Regions from separate parts of the Homo sapiens genome. Here region 2 is linked to region 1. The links are contacts of gene promoters, found by promoter capture Hi-C in blood cells and fetal thymus (Javierre and others, 2016). All regions are on one chromosome and are shown on one strand. The core of a region is centred on a gene start or on the middle of the fragment in contact, and the rest is flanking DNA. Distances in the headings are between cores, read along the strand shown.

Evidence for each region. The method cuts DNA at HindIII sites, captures the fragments that hold promoters and counts their contacts. A CHiCAGO score of 5 or more calls a contact.
Region 2: a fragment that was not itself captured here is called in contact with the fragment with the promoter of GLI3 in region 1 in 1 of 17 cell types (endothelial precursors); the score reaches 8.4 in endothelial precursors.

Annotation. Positions count from the first base shown.
Region 1 is chr7:42,235,681-42,238,828 of GRCh38, reverse strand. GLI3 (GLI family zinc finger 3) reads left to right here and starts at 1,620. Exons shown (of 15, transcript NM_000168.6): 1 at 1,620-1,858. RefSeq lists an enhancer at 895-1,876. The HindIII fragment of the contact is 5,518 bases long and covers 1-3,148 here.
Region 2 is chr7:41,974,448-41,977,595 of GRCh38, reverse strand. GLI3 (GLI family zinc finger 3) reads left to right here. Exons shown (of 15, transcript NM_000168.6): 12 at 1-38. Among named protein-coding and RNA genes, the nearest start is that of GLI3, 260 kb to the left of the region's middle. The HindIII fragment of the contact is 1,214 bases long and covers 644-1,857 here.

The DNA of each region.
Region 1 (3,148 bases), core at 371-2,870:
CCAGAAAGAGGGGATGTTGGAATGTCACAGGGGCTTTCTTTTCTTTCTTTTTCTTCCTGTGTTTCCCCCCGAGAACTCCTTTTTTAAGTTACATGTCCAGGTTGGATATATTAAAATGACGCAGATGAACAAGGACTGGATGGTCGAGGAAGGAGGCCAAATAACTTTTACTAGCATGGGCCTCTGAAAATGAAGCAGGGACAGAGACACTTTGTAGCTCAAGGAAAAGCGGCACGTTAGAGACCAGGCTCCAAGCCTGGGGTCTTTGTTTTTGTGTCTTTTATAAAGTGGCCCATAGGGACAGCAGGCTGTGTGGTGGGAGCTCCTCCTCGCTTCGCGGATTTGGCCCCGAGGGCAGACGAGTCCGGTGGAGAGAAAAACCCTGAACTTCCAAAGGCATCATCCCGCGAGAGGGAGTTTCGGGGATGGCTTTGGGAAAATGTAAAACAAGGAGATGGGGAGCCAAGGATGGGGGGCGGTGGTAATCAGAGAAGCCTTAAAAGAATAAAGGGGAGTCCAGCCCTTGAGCAAGAGTGAGAAAGAGAGGCTGGGTGGGAGAAGATGGGAGCAGACAGGACGCAGCACGAGTGCCAGGGCGCGCATTTGGGGGGTGTCCTGGCGGTGTGGAGAGAGAAGAGAGAGGGCGCGGGTGACATCACGCCCGGGCCCCCTTCCCCTCGCCGGGTGGGTGGGGCTTCGGCGCGCCGGGAGGGCGCGGGGTCAAGTAGGGGGAAGAGGAGGAGCAGGCATGAATGTGTCTGTGTGAAGACCGGGGAGGGGCGGAGGAGGAGGAGGAGGAGGAGAAGGAGGAGGAGGAGGAGGAGGCGGCGGCGGCGGCGGCGGCGGCGGCGGAGGGCGGGGAGGGAGCGCGCGCGTGGCTCGCGGCGCCCGGGCTCCCCCCCAGCCCCCGACCCCGGCCCGCGACGCGCCGCCTCCCAGCCGCCGCCGCCCGCCTCGCAGCTGGGACCCACTCCGGGCTTGGGGACCCGGCGGGCGGGAGAAGCGGGGGCTCCCGGCGCGGCCTGGAAGGAGCGAGAAAGCAAAAGTAAGGCGAGCAGCACTCCAAGTTTTCCCAACTTCGCCCCCTGCGGCGGCAGGCGTCCTGCTGCTCAGCGCGTCCCCTCCGAGCCCGAGAGTGGCTGAAAGAAAAGGGACTGGGCGGGGGCCGGGGCGGAGGAAGAGAGAGTGCGAGGGAGCGAGGAGAGTCCGGCAACATCTGTTAAAACTTGGGGGAGGAGGAGCGCGGGGAGGAGGAGGAAGAGGAGGAGAGAAGGGAAGGAGGGAGCGCGCGGGAGGGGAGCGCGGAGCCGAGGGACAACTTTTCCACCCCGTGAGTAGTGCAGGCGGTGCCAGGTCGGGGCGGGGGGCTTCTCCACCCAGCACGGGGCACCAGGCCGGGATGGGACCTTTTTCCAGAAAGTCGATTGGATGCCAGGAGAGGCGTACGGCTGGGGGTTTCTTTCTTTCTCTTTCCCCTCCCTCCCGCGGTTGAACCAAATCAGAACTGTCACTCAGGGCTTGTGAGTCAGAAGGGATCGGATTACACGATCCCCGAAACTGATGCCGGAGCTGCACGAGCGGGAGGGAGCGGGCAGGGGCAGCGCCACCGGCGCGCTCGCACACTCGCACTCGCGCACACCCGCCGCTCCCACTCACCCGCGCCGCTCTCCCGCCTTCCCCGCGCGCCCCGCGGCCGCCCGCGCCGCACCATGCCCGCGGCGGGCGCACCCCGCGCCCAGCCCGGCCGCTCGCGGTAGCCGTAGCCGCCCGCGGCCGCGCGGAGCGGGGAGCCGCCAGCCTGCGCCCCGTCCGCGGGTCTATGGGAAGTTCGGGGACTTGACAGCCGCTGCCGCCGCAGGTACGTCCCGCTCGAAGTTCTTTGTTTCGCGGACCCCGCAGCCCGCTCCTGCGGCCGCGCCCGCGCCTCCGGGGCCAGAGGTGGTCCCCAGCGTGGGGACGGGATGGAGTGAAAATGGCTGTCAAAAGGCGCCCAGATTTAGAGAGCCGCCGGTGAGGCGTCCGAGCAAGGCTTGCATTCGCTCCCTCCTCCTGGAAGGTCCTTTCCGAAGAGTCCGACCCGCGGACCGGCCGGAGACGGATTGGAGAATTTCACCTCCCGGAGGGGGGACGAAGTTTGCCGCAGTGGTGGCGGCGCCCCTCGCCTCCGCCCCCATCCAAAGGGTTCAGAAGAACTCCGCGAGCCCCGCACGCGCCTGGCTCCTTCCTTTGCGCGGTGGCGCTCTACGGCTCGGGCTTCGGGCGCGCACGGCGCTCGGGATGGGCGGAAGGAGGCGGGAGGCATGGTGGGTGCGCGCGGGGACCTCCGCCGCGGGGGCCGCCGCCGCTGGGGCTTCTCCAGCCCGGGCTATGCTTCGGAGGGCGGGGGTGTGGTGTGAGCGGATGGAGAGAGGCGCGCCTTCGTCGTCATAGAGGAAAAGTGAAAGTTGTACCATCTGTATATGATTTGGGATTCTCTTATTTCTTTTCCTTTCCAGGGGCAGCGCGCACAGACACACAAAGTAACCGTGGTCCATGCAATAATCATTTAAGGTGCCGCGTTTACACAGAGCAGCAGGGGACAGTTACTTTCTTGAGTAGCAGCGGGAAAACGGGCGGGAGAAGGCAGAGAGGGTGTAAATATTGATCCCAAACTTGCAGAGTTTGTGAAGCGACTTTTAAGCAGATTGTCCGAAGCGGACGCTCCACCCCGCACCCGGCCTTTTATCCTTTCCTGAACTTTGTGCTCCTGTCCCCCATTGCACCTCCTTCTGTAAGATGCCGTCCCCCGAGAGGCGCTGCACCCCAGGCTTCCCTGCCTGACCCCGCGTGGAAAGAGGATTAAGGAGGCTCCCTCCGCCGCTGGTCATCCTGCCCCAACTTCTCATCTCCCCAGTGCAGACTGCCGGGTAGATTCTGGCCTTGGGTACAGTGCTCATGGCCCTCTGCCAGTTTATATGTACATATATTTATGTAAAACATTTTCTCCCAGCTCTTTGCCAGCTGTTCCACATTTTCCAGCTGCCACTTCAGTTTGAAATGATGGACTGTCTGCGTCTCCAAGTCAAAGAACCCTTTAGTCAAAGGTATGGAGGGCCGGCCGCTGTGCAAATACATGGCAGTGCCATTAGCCGGGCTGGTATTATTAGTT
Region 2 (3,148 bases), core at 1-2,500, 260 kb after region 1:
ATCGCGCCAAACACCAAAACAGAACGCATTCCAATGAGGTAAGCATCCTCAGTGGGCATGGAGCTTGCATAAGGAAACAAAGAACTATCCCGGGGAAGGCACATGGGAAGGCGCAGTGTGTTCTGTTTTGTTTTCCCCTTGGCCATTCCCAGCATGAGGGGCTCTGCCCCTGCAGGTGAAGGCTTGAGCTTCCTAGGTGGGACTGGAAACTGGATCTTATTTGGAGAATAATAAGAGATGAGGAGGAAACTTCTTAAAACCCCTGCGAACTTACTAGTTTCATGTTGTTTTGAACTGCCACCTACTGGTCAAACAGTGGGAGCATTTGACTTGGAATCTGAGCCAGTCACGCTGCCCAAAATAGCAGGAATCCATGCAAAGGATGACCCCATAAGCCCCAAGGATATATTAAGAAGTAGCATGTTGACAGCTGACAGCTTCCTGCTAAGTCATCCACTTTTATTTGCTTCCTCCAAGTGGTATCTTCAAATGGTATTATATCAAAAAAGATTTTTACAGAGCAACCAGCCTTGGCTAAATGCAATTTTCAGACATTCTAAATTCCAAAGGATCTTGGAAAATGGTCTCAGAAACCCAGAATACTTTCTAGGCAGTTACTTAAGAAAACATATTGAGTAAAGCTTCAGGGTGATTCCTGTTGTGTTACTGTTATTTTTAGGTAGCGATCCCCCCTAAATTGTAGAGAGGCATAAGAATAAAAATTATTCCAAATTCATTGCTTACATTTTAGTGAACATCTTCCTACAGACTTCCAATTTGGCCTTGGAGGTCTAGCTCAAATTCTGGCTTGTCTGTGAAATCTTCTCTTGAATGTATTGAGAGATTAACAAAAGGACTCCCCACATTTTGAGTGGAAATAGGATAGCTAACCAGAATTTGTTAACATGAGACATAGTTCAGCACCACAGCGTGTCATCAGTTTGCTTGAAATGTGTTAGAGAAGGAACATCGTGCACACATGAGACCCTGGAGTGGCTGTCATTTCATCTCACCAGTGCAGGTCAAACACATTCATGATCTTTCAGACAGAGAGCTGGGCAGAGAGAATCTTGATAGAAACAAAGTGAGCCATTCTGCTCAGTGGACTTTTGGCTTTAAGGTGGCAAAGATGGTTCTCACCATGTTTTCTTCAGCTGAAACTGACAGAGCAAAAACATCTCTAAAGGGATTAACTGCACTCTGTAAAAAGCACACTCACTCATAAACTCACACATGTAAGTTCATATATATACCAACTTTCTGTGTGAAAAGGTCATGGAAACTGGAGTTATTCGGAATCTCATTTTCTAACTGTTTGAAGACATTTTAAAGATGCCACATCTCCATTTTTAATGTAAAAATGCTTTTACAGTATGCAGTAGCTGGAATATAATCTATTACACTTGTTTTGTACAAAATTTTAGGGAGTCTAGAATAGATAGATACATAGAGATAGAAAGTAGATCAGTGGTTGCCAAAAGCAGAGGGGAGAGGGAATAGTGATGACTGCTAATGGATACAAGGTTTTTTTGTTGGGGTGGTGAAGATATTCTGGAATTAGGTAATGGTGATGATTACACAATGTCTAGAATGTACTAATGCCACTGAATTGTGCAATTTAAAGGGATTATTTTTATGGCATGTGAATTATATTTCAATTTAAAATTTTAAGGGGTTTTGACTTAACAGAATGTATTTCATATATTTCATAGATTTAAGTGTAATTTTGACTAGAAATTTAGGGGGCATTCATTCCTATAGATGTTAGGCCAATGCTGTCTCCTATTATCATGGAGAAGTTTGGACAGAGGGTATGTTAGGATCAGAATGCACACATATAAAGACAATTACCAAGCTTTTTTGTCTTTTTATGGACCTAAAATATTTGTACATGTCTGTTTGCTTTAATTGTGGTGTAGTTGAGCTTGTGTTCTTCTCCAAGGTAAAAAGTGCAATGTTGTGTGAGAGTTGAGTGTTTGTTATAAGATTAAAAGATAAGGATATCTTGGGTAGTAATGTCATTGACCACACTTGAGCAATTTACTTAAATTACTAACTTTTATCATAAATACATAATTAAAATTCTACCCACAGACATATTTACAAACAAATTATACTTCTCTCTTCTATATGCAAGACTTTGGCCCTGTGTGTGACTGATGGACATTTTCAGACGCATCAAAACTAAGTTTGTCCAGGAAATCCAGATTTGTGCAATTTCACAATCCTAGATGAATCAAGTGATTTGCCTTCATTTATTTCCTCTCTTATTTGCAACTTCATTTATTCATTGAACAAATACTTAAAGCTATTTATGTGCCAAGCCCTTTGCTGTTCTAAGTGTGGCCAAGAAAATAATGGACTGTAATGGGAAGGGAGTAATTGCTGGCACTTCTCTGTTCCTCTGGCTGTCCTGCTCATTTAGGGCTGCTAGACTGACCGTAGCTCTGACAGGACTTCTTACTCCAGATCAGACAGCTCATTTTTCCCCCAAAGATACCGCTAAACAAGTTTCCTGAGCTCTGATTCGGTTGAACCTCCCTCTCTAGAAAGCTGCAATGGCTCCCTCTTTCCTATAGGGAGACTTGAGACTCCCTAAGGTTGTGTAAGTGTCAGTTCTCACAGGGCCCAAGCTCATCCCTCTAGTCCTGACCTCTCACTATCATGACCATGAATGAAACCTTCCAGAAGCTGGTGCTGTGCACTGCCATGCTTAGGTGCATGAAGTGGTTCTGCCACTGGACCTTTGCTGAGGACACTTCTTTTTGGCATCCCAAGTAAAATGACTCCTAATAAAAGCTCTGTATATTGAGTGCTTACTATGTTCCATGCATCCTGGTAAGCACTTCATGTACATGATCTAATTTAGCACTTACTGATAATCCCGTGAGCTGGGCATTAAGCCCAGATATAGAATCTTAATAACTGATGCCTCCCATGATTATCCTAGCTGAAAAATGATCCCTCCTCTGTCTATATCCTTACATAGCTTTCACACTTTATATTACAGATCATTGCATCTTCTTATTTTTCCTATCAGATTTTGTATTCCTTATGATTAAATTTTGTTGTATGCAACTTTGTGCTTGCAGAATCTTGCACTTCAGTAAGTCTGAGAACATTTTTCTTAGTCTCTAATTATATTTTA